4 separate regions of the Homo sapiens genome follow, and regions 2, 3 and 4 are each linked to region 1. Evidence: promoter capture Hi-C in 16 types of primary human blood cells and fetal thymus (Javierre and others, 2016). All regions are on one chromosome and are shown on one strand. The core of a region is centred on a gene start or on the middle of the fragment in contact, and the rest is flanking DNA. Distances in the headings are between cores, read along the strand shown.

Region 1 (3,112 bases), core at 479-2,978:
ATCATGTTAATTATGCCAATTTCATTAACATTTACTTAATTGTAGGCATGTCAACTACAAATGCAATGCAAGATTCTTGATTGGATCCTGGATTTAAAACATAAAAAGATTCTAAAGGACATGTGGATAATTAGGAAAATTTGAATGTGTATCACATCTTAGATAATAGTATTGTGTTGATGTTATGTTTCCGTGGTGTTGTAATGTGTTATAGAAGACTGCCTTTATTTTTAGGAGATACATGCTCAAGAATTTAGGGGTGACATGTGTCCTAAAGTCAGCAACATACTTTCAAACCATTCAGGGAAAAAACTGTGCATATGTGCATGCGTGTGTGTGAATATATATATACACATATAGAGAGAGAGAAAAGGACAGGCAGAGACAGAGAAAGACAAAGCGAGAGAGAAAGTAAATGTGGCAAAAAGATACCACTGATTAATACACATGATGAAAATATGGGTGTTCGTTGTACTATTCTTTCAATTTTTATATAGATTTGAAACATTTCTAAATAAAAATTGGGAGGGGGAAAAAACCATATTTAGTTAATGAAGGCATATTTACATTGTATAATGTTTATTAAGAGCCTAGAGGGACAATATCTTATATATCTAAAATAATCACTACATATGAGATGAGAAATGTCTCAGTGACTTGATATAAATACTTCAAACATCATTTTGCTCTGAGATAATAGAATTAGTGTACTACCTTTGAATATCTCCAAAATTCCACTTATGATATGGATGTTTGACACAGACTTCAAATACTCTTCAATCCTCCAGAAGCTTCTCAAGCTCAGAAACAATCTTCTTCTCACACTGACCTATGCAAGAAATGTTATAAAATATCAATATAAATATTCTGTCCAAACCAGGTCTATATTTAAGCACAGATTCATATGCGCAAGACAAAGAATGTTTGAGCGAGTCTAAAGATAATTCAAACAAAACTCCACTCGTACATGCGCTATCTTTAATACCAAAAGGGAAGCTTTCCCCAAATCACCCAGATGAAAGTCGAAAAGCATCCTCACTATAGATCGCATTCATTTTGAATACATCCTGCCACACAGAAAAACACTATCACAAGCTTGCTGAACTGAATAATTGAGAGTCAAATCCAATTGGAAAGGACTGTGATTGTTTTCGTCTCTAAAACTGCATCACCGTAACTGAATTCAAGAGCTGTGTTGTCCCTGCAAAACCCTGCTTAGGTTTTTAGGCCTTCTTTTAAAAATGCAGAAGCTAAACCAGTGTGGCAATTAGTGAAAGAGGACTGCAAAAATAACACAATAAATATTTGCTCAGATCAGTCAAAAATTGTAGGTAAAAATATAAGTGTTTTAGAAATGCTTAGAATGTGGACACGAGGAGGTAAGGAAAGGAAGTATTGGGCTTAATTTCTCTTTATTTTTCAACTCCACTGAATGCTTGTTTAAACTCCCACTTGTCTCTGATATGGTAAGCTAGAAAAGCATTTTAGATGTCATAAGAATGGATCAGCGCTCTCGTGATAAAGGGCTAAGAAAGCGTGAGAAGACAGATGACAAAAAATAATAGCGGAGTTCTAGGGTCCTTTGCTTTCTTTTTCTTACCTTCACTAACCAATCTGCTCATCTGATCCGGCAGAAACACAGCAACTGACCAAACAGAGAGATGAACAAGCCAGCCAATGCTCTTTCCAGAAATTTTCACAAGCCTTTCACTGATGAGACCAGTAGACTGAGCTGCTCAGTGCAAAGCCATTCTTTTTATAATTGGTCCCATGGAAAAAGAGTTGTTTTTGTTCAAGTCCGATTTGTGCTAAAGAGGCAGTGGGAAGTCCCGGGAGGTGGGGAGGCAGTAACTGACAAAGCCACATCAAGCCACAGAATGGTGTTTCTTCCCCTTTTTCGAAAAATGAAACCTATCTACGAAACTGTCTCTTATTAAAATAGTTTATGGTTACACATTTTGTAAGAACCCTAGCAACAGAATTAAATTTCCTTTCTAGAAAAGTACATTATCTGGGATCCTTCACCCAAAAGAAAGCCAAAGTCACATATGACTTTAGGAAATTCTGTTTCGTTACTAATCTATAATTTTTAAGAAGTATTATTTCTCAATGGTACTTATAATTTTTAAAAATGTAAATGAAAAAAATTTTCTCGGCCGGGCGCAGTGGCTCACGCCTGTAATCCCAGCACTTTGGGAGGCCGAGGCAGGTGGATCAGGAGGTCAGGAAATCGAGACCATCCTGGCAAACACGGCGAAACCTCGTCTCTCCTAAAAATACAAAAAATTAGCCGGGCGCGGTGGCGGGCGCCTGTGGTCCCAGCTACTCGGGAGGCTGAGGCAGGAGAATGGCGTGAACCCGGGAAGTGGAGCTTGCAGTGAGCCGAGATCGCGCCACTGCACTCCAGCCTGGGCGACAGGGCGAGACTCCGTCTCAAAAGAAAAAAAAAAGAAAAAAGTTTTCCCTCTCCAAATACCGAAGGTCAAAACAATAATACATGGTGTGGGCAAAGTTGTGAAGAAACAAGCACTCTCAAACACTACTGATGAGATTGTAAACATATTTAGAGGGCAATTTCCCAGTATCTCTCAAATACAAATATTCATACCCTTTGACCCAACAATTGTATTTTTTATAAATTTGTCCAAGCTATATGTTTACACTTGTACACAAAGACTTATGTGAAAAGATATTTGTTGCAGCATTGCTTGAGAAAATAAATGACTAGAAAAAATTATATCCATAAATAAGATATTGGCCAAGTAAATGAGAACGTATGCATACTTAAAATCCTATGTAGGTTGTGTGCGGTGGCTCACGCCTGTAATCCTAGCACTTTGGGAGGCCGAGGCAGGTGGATCACTTGAGGTCAGAAGTTTGAGACCAGCCTGGCCAACATGGTGAAACCTTGTCTCTACTAAAAATACAAAACTTAGCCACGCGTGGTGGTGGGCACCTGTAATCCCAGCTACTCGGAGGCTGAGGCATGAGAATCCCTTGAACCCGAGAGGTGGAGGTCACAGTGAGCTGAGATTGTGCCACTGCACTCCAGCCAGGGTGACAGAGCGAGACTCCATCTCAAAAAAAAAAAAAAAGAAAAAAAAAGATCTCT
Region 2 (3,033 bases), core at 215-2,714, 690 kb after region 1:
TTTTCACTGCCCTTCTTTGTCCATTTATTTTGTTGGCTTGCTTTTCTTTTTATTTTCTTTCAAACATTTGCTTTCCACTCTCCTTTCCGATTGATTCATTCCACTTCGGTCTACAGTTTAAATGTGGTCCCCTTTTTAAAATTTATTTCTTAAGGGATGGGGGTCTCACTGTGTTGCCCAGGCTGGTCTCCCAACTCCTGGGCTCAAGCAATCCTCCCACTTCAGCCTCCAAGTGCCTGCGATGACAGGTGCATGCCACCATATCCGGCTTCTTTTGAAATAATCCTTTTCTGCTCAACATTTTTCCCCCTAGAATGTTTTAGGTGGAAGCACACCCGTTTTGCTTTATCTAATGCTATAGCATGGCAAAAGAGGCAAAAATAAAGTATCTGGACAAAAGCAAAAGGGAATGCCAGGATTCTTTATTACCTTTAACAAACCAAATATAAAGGTAAATGTTATCACTAAAGATATGTGCATGTAAGTATGATCGGTATTGCTATTTTTAAGCAAATATGGCACTTCTTCTGGCATTCTGGCTCATACACTGAGATTACTTAGTGTTGCCCTTTAGCAATTTTAAGCTAGTGAGTTGTGGAGGCAGCTGCTATTACGGTCTGAGGGGGGCACACTAAGATTTGCTTTGGCTGAAGTTGTCCCTTGGTCTAATAGTATATTCTAGGTCTGCTCCGATCCTTGGGGAAGAGGGATTAGTGTCCTGTAATGAGGAAGTAGTGCCCTTTGCAGTAAATCAGAGACACCAATCTCTGTGTCAGTGTGGCAAATCACTTAACTACTGTTTATGTTTATTTCAACGAAAAGACAGAAGCCTCAGAGCATGGACATTTGTAAATATTACAAATCGATAAACTAAGGATTTGTAACACCTGGATAGTAAGACATTTGTCACTCTCTTCCTTTCCTGTTTTTTGTTTGTTTGTTTTACACTTTTAAATTACCTGCTCAAAATTCAGGAGTTCTGACACGCTTCTCTATAAATGCTTAAGTCTCTTTTCTCAGTGTCCAATTAGAAAACTACTAAGAATAATCTGTTGACAAGAAAAAAGAATGGAATAAGAAATCACTATTCAGACTTTTTAAAAAAATTGACAGATGGCAATCCTCAAAAATACATCTTTAAGTTCTTTTTTAGACTGGAGTTATAGGCACTTGAAGACTTGTTCCCAAATCTTGACGTCATATTATAATTAAATACTGAAAGTATTAAGAAATGACGCGGGCATCACAGAGACTGTTTTGTTGTTCAATTGCAGTCAGATTATGAATTTTGCTTATTAGAGGAAAGCATTTGGAAAAGAACATAATTGATATACCTTCGTGTCATATGTAAATTATGTAGTGATGCCATGTATGATAATATATTGTTTGTTTATAGTAGATGTTTCTTCTTCTCCTCCTTCTGATTATATTATTATTATTATTATTACTGTTTTGATATGAACCACGGACATGAAAAGAGCCTGAAGCTCTGCTACCAGAACAAACTTCAGCTAAAATTTTGACTTCAGAATCAGCCATGACCTACTTGTTCCCAGTACCACTGTCTAGAATGGTGCAAGGATTGGAATTGGGGAATCCAGCTCGAAGACTCATGCGCTTAGCTATTCTGCTATGCTGCCATGAAGAGACATGGCTTCTTTTCCTGTGAGAAAGGTCTGTGTTTTTTCTAGTATACTCATAGACAATCTCACTGATGGCTCAGAGCAGAGAAGAGTAAATTTGCTAGAAATAGAGATAAAGAAGAAATGAAATGGGATGAGGTCAAAGAAGGCGACCCAGTACATTTTCCCGTAGCCAAAACTCTGGTCTTTGAACCACTTAAACTTTGAGGGTATCTTTAGAGAATAAGGGCATCTCTGACCTAAGGGACTGTGCAGGATGCTTCCCCATTCTCCCATCCATCTCTATTCTTTGTCCTTCTCCATTCTGCTCTGTGGCCCAGGAGGTTGGACCTCTGTGGGGACATCAATCAGGCTTTCCTGCCGTTTGGCTTCCTTTTGCTTTCAGCCAATTGGGAGGCAGTGATGAAAGGCCTACAGAAGGAGAGGAAAGGACAGGAGGAAGGTGATGTTTGGGTATTTATTCTTCAGGTTCCCTCCTACTGATCTCTGGCCTGGCAGCTGCTGAGTTCCTTGACCTGCAGCCACAAGTCTTGTTGGCCAGTCCTTTCCTACAGCAATAGCATTCCACCAGTTACGCAAACCATTCCTCCCTTTATCCCTTTGGGCAAAAGTTTACCATTCCTTGTTTTTTTTTTTTTCTCCTAGCCTGCCTAGAGCCTTGTAAATAGCCTTTTCATTATACTCTCTTCAAGTGTTCCGTTTGAATGTACCATCTGTTTCTCCCAGGACCCTGACCAAACTGAGACCCATCCAGCCAAAGCCACCCTCTGGGGCAATAGACTTGATGCTGAGTGGGGACTACTGATAGAGGAGAAAGTCAGATCCCCCCACTCTGGGGCTAAAAAGCAGATGAGACTCAGTCATTGGATAAATATTCAGAGAAGCCTCCTCTGTAGGCCCACAAAGAGCTTCTGGCCTTTTGAGGGTAAAGGCATATCAACAATTATGATGGTGACAACAGCAGATGTGAGGGTAAAAAGGATGCAACCAGCTTGTTCTTTACAAGAGCTTCAACGGTCTGCTTGATCTTTTGGAGAGAATGTCAAGATAAGGGTTAGAGAAATGGGCAAACTGGAAAGGGCTTAGTGTGACAATCTGGAGTTTGACTTGTATCCTGAAAGGTATGAGGGAGCTTTTTAAGGAAGAAAGAATTAAAGCATGAGTGTGGCTCTGTCCGGTTTGTCTTTTAGAAAAATCACTCAGGCAATGGTATGGGGGCTTGATCAGAAGACAAGAGTCTGAAATTCAGACATCAGGTACAAGGAGATTGCAGTATGAGGAGGATCTGAATTACAGCAGTGGCAGAGGAGGTGGAGAAATGATACAATAAGGTTCCAACTACAGGAGTCTTGACTGACTGGATGTATGAATGGAAGAGAGGGAAGAAGTA
Region 3 (3,363 bases), core at 789-3,288, 650 kb after region 1:
GGTCCTTCACATTGTGGCATTATTCACAATAGCAAAGACTTGGAACCAACCCAAATGTCCAACAATGATAGACTGGATTAAGAAAATGTGGCACATATACACCATGGAATACTATGCAGCCATAAAAAAGGATGAGTTCATGTCCTTTGTAGGGACATGGATGAAATTGGAAATCATCATTCTCAGTAAACTATCGCAAGAACAAAAAACCAAACACCGCATATTCTCACTCATAGGTGGGAATTGAACAATGAGATCACATGGACACAGGAAGGGGAATATCACACTCTGGGGACTGTGGTGGGGTGGGGGGAGTGGGGGGGATAGCACTGGGTGATATACCTAATGCTAGATGACGAGTTAGTGGGTGCAGCGCACCAGCATGGCACATGTATACATATGTAACTAACCTGCACAATGTGCACATGTACCCTAAAACTTAAAGTATAATAAAAAAAAAATAAAAAAATAAAAAAAAAAAAAAAAGAAAGTAGCAGGGCAAACGTTTAGCTTCCATCACAATGCTACGGAAGCCATACAAATGTATATCTGGTAACTGTCAGTGAACTGCAACGGAGTTCTGGTGCCCTACAAGTCTACTACTCAAGAGAGTTAACTGCCTGTGTTGTTTGAGTCCGCATGTGTTGCTAGGAGTCTGCAGCACCACTCCCTCCGGCTTACAGCTGGAAGAGATAAGTCTCTGCCTTAGGAAAGTGTGTAGGATGCACACAGAAACCTCAAGATGCAATACAGCTGTGAACAATGTGACACTGTCCTGGGCTAAAGCTTGGGATGACTGTGTAGTGAAAGTATGTATGCAGTTTAATAAAGCTAAAGCCCCCCATTCCCGTGCCCCATGAGAGACTGTCCTCCACTTTCCCTGGGAGCTGACTTTCCAGGACTCTGATCCAAGTTGTAATGAGCTCACTAGCTCTCACAGCCGGAACTCAAGAGGAGTGAGACTATCCAAGAAACCAGTTACGCCATGTTTCCATGGCAGCTGGGAGAAAGCGCACTTCAGAAGGGTAAAAATGCTGAACTGCACATTTCTCTTCATAACTTGTATTATTTTATCCAGGGCTGGTTCTAGCCTATAAATAGAGAAATCTAGAAACGTAAGGAACAAGGGCAAACATCAAACCACCTACCTTCTCAAGTTGAATTTCCAACTACTGAAGTGATAGGCCATTCATCTTTTATTTTGAAACATGAAACAAGTAATAGGCTTCTCTTGCCCCTTTGTTTAGTCTATGCATTTTTCTTGACTTTGGTAAGTATTTCTGTTTTATGACTTTCACTTTTACTCTGTGTAATAGTAGCAGGTGTCAAAATTCACCAGAAAAGAGGAACAACTGGTCAAGTTTGCGTCACATATCTACATGTTACATGCTTTTGAAAAATAGTGAGAAACACCTCAGCATTTTAAAGCCATGGAAGCATTCCAAAGATATTACAGAAAAAAAACATTAAGTCCCTTCATTTCAATTTTATAGCTGGTTTCTGTCTTTTTAATAATACTGCAAAAATCCTACTATCTCTGACTGAACTGAGGTCTAGAATTTAAAACAAGGAGTGTTTTAGTCTATCTTTCCAATGGCTTATGGAGACTTTTTGGAAAGGCCTAAGGTTTCAATATGCCTATCTATTAGCTAGAAAGAACAATAATGACCTCATTAACTTTATGAGTGGAAAGAGCTGTACGGCTAAATGATTATTCCAACAGATAAATTGGTATAGTGGTCTTTGTTTCTTCATACCAACTCTATTTCCCAGAAGAAATTTAATCCAAATCTCCCAGGTGGTAAGTGAAAAATAAAATTTAGAGCACATATGCTTTTGGGGGAGTATTGTTCTAAATTCAGTGTTTGGCATACAATACGCATTGAACTACTACTGCCTGCCTATTTTACTAATTTTCCAAATTTTCCCAAGAAGCCAAAACAAGGCAGTCTCCCCACATACTCCTATTATAGAAAGGTGGCATATTTTAAAATATAATAATATGTCTCCAATTTTCCAGTCTCACTCCTCCAAAGGATTCTAATGGACTTTTCAGATGACAAGTATTATTCTTGCCAGCTCAAACTCACTAGAACAGACAAGAACCTTGGATCTTAATGAGACTTCAGACAAATTGAGTAATTTAAATCCAGTCTGTCTTGAAAGCAAATTAAGCCAAAATATCCAGGCTTCAGAAGTCTAGAATTATTGGGAGATCTTCAAGAACAGACCAGGAATTCTGGAACATATCTTTAAAGAATTAGCTGAGAGAAGAGGAACACTAACACATCATACTTGGTCTATAATTTTTTAGATATATTTGAGGCCTCTTAAAATCTCAACTCGTAAAAACCTCATCATCAACATAGAGCTTTACTTAAATGGGGGAAAAATAAACCTACACACAGATAAACAGGAATTATGCATTCATACTTAGATAAGTACAGAAAGTACAGTCTGTGAATTTATAATTACTATCAAGTTATGTTTCCAGATGTGAAATGGTATTACTTATTTATCACCAATGACTTTGTAAAACTCTTCTAAGAAATGAAGGAGAGGGCCAGGTGTGGTGGCTCACACCTGTAATCCCAGCACTTATGGAGGTCGAGGCGGGCGGATCACGAGGTCAGGAGTTCGAGAGCAGCCTGGCCAACATGGTGAAACCCCGTCTCTATTAAAAACACAAAAAAATTAGCCAGGCATGGTGGTGCACACCTGTAATCCTAGCTACTCAGGAGGCTGAAGCAGGATAATTGCTTGAACCCAGGAGGTGGAGGTTGTAGTGAGCTGAGATCGCACCACTGCACTTCAGCCTGGGCGACAGAATGAGACTCCATCTCAAGAAAAAAAAAAAAGGGAGAGAAGCAATAAAGTACCTAGTATGGCACAAATGTGGAAGACTCAGAATTGAGGAAAAGAGAAAAAGGTTATGAACCAAAAAATACTGAGAAGTTCAACTGTGAAATAAAAGATAGCACAAAATCCTGGCTGTGGATTGTTTAAGGCATTTCTGGCTCCCTCCTCTTGCTTGGCCTTCCTCAGCAGAATCTCACTACTTCTTAGCAACACTGTAATAATGGCAGAGTTGAAATTCAAATTAGTTTTGCTCATTGTTAGCTGCCCTGGTAAAAGGTTTGTTGAGAAAGCAGTTTCTGTAACAAATGGCCGATATAAAGTTTTCTGGGGGAGAACTGTGTATCTTAAGTACCATTTCTGGGGCCTGAATTCTGCCCCAGATAATGGAGGGCTGACTCATATAGGCACCACTGTGCCATGCTCCTTTAAATCAAGCTTCAAGAGCGGAAGGATCAGGGCTCTAACTCCCAAAACCTTCATTATATATAAAACATACAATCCATA
Region 4 (3,315 bases), core at 289-2,788, 670 kb after region 1:
AGAGTGCATATATCACAGTTTATATTCTAGATAAAAGCAAACCTGTATTTTAAACTTATCACATTATATACATTATATTTAATTATAGGGGGTGCGAGAGACATTAAACTAGGCAGCAGTGGCTCTGCCGCTTAATCTCTGGTTCCTTCCTGTAACACAATGATTTCTATGCTTTGTCTTCTAAAACAATTGCTAAGGAGAGCTACCAAGTGGGAAAGAAAATAGATCCCTCCTCTGCCTGAACTTGACTCAACTGGCAAAACATTAAACCGCATAAATAACATTTTCAGGTGTTCCTGTTTGGTTAATTATCCTCCCCCGACCTGAGTCACTTGATTTGAGTTTACATTTATACTTTCAAAAATTAAGTGCTCTAGAACAGTGCTACTCAAAATATGGTCTTTCACAAGCATAGATATGGACAGTGTGTTAAGTAACTTCTATAGCAATTTGACATTGCCATGACATCCAAATTCATGATCAATGAATTCATCTCATGGAGCAGGGTACAGACGAGGTCAAGTGTTGTTGAACTTGACTGTTGAGTTACATGTGGTGTGAATGCATACTTGTCAGTTTCATTAGCACCACCTAAAAATCTGTGATGTGTAGTATGTTAAAAACCACCACCGCGGCTGGGTGCAGTGGTTCACGCCTGTAATCCCAGCAGTTTGGGAGGCGGAGGCTGGCAGATCATGAGGTCAAGAGATCGAGACCATCCTAGCCAACATGGTGAAACCCCGTCTCTACTAAAAATGCAAAAATTAGCTGGGTGTGGTGGTGCACACCTGTAATCCCAGCTACTCGGGAGGCTGAGGCAGGAAAATCGCTTGAACCCGGGAGGCAGAGTTTGCAGTGAGCTAAAATCGCACCACTGCACTCCAGCCTGGCAACAGAGCAAGACTCTGTCTCAAAAAAACAAAAAAAAAAACCCACCACCAACAAAAACCTGGCCCTTCACCAGTTTGAGAAGCACTGCTCTTCAGTGATAGCTTCTTTTTTTTTTTTTCTAAGACAACGTCTTGCTATATTGCCCAGGCTGGACTCAAATTCCTGGGCTCAAGGGATCCTTCTGCCTCAGCCTCTGGAAGCGCTGGGACTACAGGTGCGTGCCACCATGCCTGGCCTTAAAGTGATAGCCTCTTTACAGACCAAGAAAGTAAAATATAAAAACAATCACTTTCTTACCAAAATTAATGCTTGGTAAAGAAATCTGTATGTAAATATATCAATATAAGCAACATTTGTCTCCGTTATATAAGCTTCTATTTATGAGGGGGTGTAATGACTTTCCTGGAGTTATGCAAGCGATGAACGCTTTGTGGAATAGCAAATTTTGAAACATTCCCACAGAATATCACCAATTCATAAATAAGCTAATGATTCATCCACTATGTCATAAGAGAGACTTTCAGAATATTTTTAGGTCATTTTATTACTACCGTAGAGGGTACAGACTTTAAAAACTATCTATTTTATGTGAGTGCTCTGACTGTTCTGAATCTCTTTCCAGCAAAATTGCAGCTCCCAAGAGACATACAGAGGTAATCAGACTTGTGGGCTTAAAAAAGAAATATTGGAAATGTCTGAATAAGAGCAGACACGTTTTTAGATGCCTTTACTCTGTGTGCAAAAATCATCTTCTGCAGATCCAGCTACATAAAATTGTACATATCCAGCACTTTTCTTCTAGCTGCAGGTGTAACCTTAATGTTCCTCTTATTTAGATCAGTAAACTACAATTTGGCAGCTCTTTTAAAACTGTAAACCAGTCAAAGTCTAAGGAACAATTCTTTTTGAGTTTCCTTCTGAAATAAGCTTGGAGAGATGCAATTCAGAAATATCTATTATGTTCTTCAATTAGAAGCTTTAAATCAAGTTATTTGAACAAGAAAAAATATTATAATATTTAGAACAGTCCATTAAAATGCCATAAATTTTGATTTGGAAGTTACATTTCTATTTTACAAATGGGGAAAGTCAATGGATCCTAATCAAAGTTAAAAGAGCAGATTATTTTTCTTTTTTCTTTTATAAGCTGAATAGTAAAGGAAGAACATTTATAACAGCCTTAATAACAAATTTGAGTAAATCTCCTGTGCTAATTTTGTCAGCTAGGGAATAAAGAATGTCATATGGATTCCAGTTTAATTATGCCGATAAAGCAGTTTTATAAATCATGCTAAGAGTAATGGATGTTCCTTTGAGAACAGAGAACTCGGAGTTTGTAAAATGTGTGTTCTGGACTTGGTTCCTTATCTTCTACCATAGTGAGTATAAATCAAATCAAGTCTTGAGTCTCAGTCTGCTCAAGTCCAAATGGAAAGAAGGGAAAAGTTGCCCCATCCACCGGTATGGTAGCATTATTTCCCAAATCAAAAACTGGAAGGACACTCAAAGGGATGACAGGACAAAAAATCTGAAACTGAAATTGATAGAAAATCCAGGTCATATGCCACCTACTCTATAGCTGTGTGAGGATTAAATATGGTTATTTCTGAAAACTCTTCGCCATTGTAAAGTGCTACACAAATAAAGTACAATTATTACAAATATGATTATAGGCTAGGAGCGGTGGCTCACGCCTGTAATCTCAGCACTCTGGGAGGCCGAGGCGGGTGGATCATGAGGTCAAGAGATCGAGACCATCCTGGCCAACATGGTGAAACCCCGTCTCTACTAAAAATACAAAAATTAGCTGAGCATGGTGGCGGGAGGCTGCTGAGGCAGGAGAATCGCTTGAACGCGGGCGGTGGAGGTTGCAGTGAGATGAGATCGTGCAACTGCACTCCAGCCTGGCGACAGAGTGAGACTCCGTCTCAAAAAAAAAAAATTAAATTAATAAATATGATTATCCTATTATTCATATCCTTTAGGTTGGTGGTGACAAAGAGGAACTGGGGGTTTAGGGCTGACAACATTCATACAACCAAGCTTTACTCTAGCCAGGGGTTAAAACAAAACCAGTCATTTAATGATGAAAGATCACTGGCCAACATGACATATAAGAAAATGAAGACCAATAGAAAGCAAGGGACTTGCCCGAGGTCACACCAAAGCTGGCATCTGAATCTAGCTATCCTTTCCAGTTCAAAGCGTTATGGCAGTAAAAAGTCAAAAGGCAGAGGTTTTAACACTGAGCAATATATTAAGGAACTAGAAGCAAGAGCCAAGGAAAGCTAAATATTGAGTAGCTTAGTGGAGAACAGTTTAGTTCACAAAATATGCTGAGAAAAGCATTAGGACAAGCTCCTAATGCAAAAGGAAGGAATTCATAGTCATTCAGAATCCTGCAGTTTCTAACCCAAGAGCATC

Evidence for each region. Contacts are between HindIII fragments. The CHiCAGO score rates a contact against its expected background, and 5 or more counts as called.
Region 2: a fragment that was not itself captured here is called in contact with the fragment with the promoter of TASL in region 1 in 1 of 17 cell types (naive B cells); the score reaches 5.5 in naive B cells.
Region 3: a fragment that was not itself captured here is called in contact with the fragment with the promoter of TASL in region 1 in 2 of 17 cell types (total B cells and naive B cells); the score reaches 13.3 in total B cells.
Region 4: a contact is called between a fragment that was not itself captured here and the fragment with the promoter of TASL in region 1, in 1 of 17 cell types (total B cells). The highest score is 5.2, in total B cells.

Annotation. Positions count from the first base shown.
Region 1 is chrX:30,576,038-30,579,149 of GRCh38, forward strand. It overlaps TASL (TLR adaptor interacting with endolysosomal SLC15A4), which reads right to left and starts at 1,729. Exons shown (of 3, transcript NM_025159.3): 1 at 1,601-1,729; 2 at 715-829. RefSeq lists an enhancer at 1,751-1,960. The HindIII fragment of the contact is 8,514 bases long and covers 1,094-3,112 here.
Region 2 is chrX:31,267,921-31,270,953 of GRCh38, forward strand. The region is part of intron 62 of DMD (dystrophin); the gene reads right to left. Among named protein-coding and RNA genes, the nearest start is that of FTHL17, 200 kb to the left of the region's middle. The HindIII fragment of the contact is 3,167 bases long and covers 1-3,033 here.
Region 3 is chrX:31,227,806-31,231,168 of GRCh38, forward strand. The region is part of intron 63 of DMD (dystrophin); the gene reads right to left. Among named protein-coding and RNA genes, the nearest start is that of FTHL17, 160 kb to the left of the region's middle. RefSeq lists a silencer at 1,379-1,428. The HindIII fragment of the contact is 2,508 bases long and covers 785-3,292 here.
Region 4 is chrX:31,250,169-31,253,483 of GRCh38, forward strand. The region is part of intron 63 of DMD (dystrophin); the gene reads right to left. Among named protein-coding and RNA genes, the nearest start is that of FTHL17, 180 kb to the left of the region's middle. The HindIII fragment of the contact is 556 bases long and covers 1,261-1,816 here.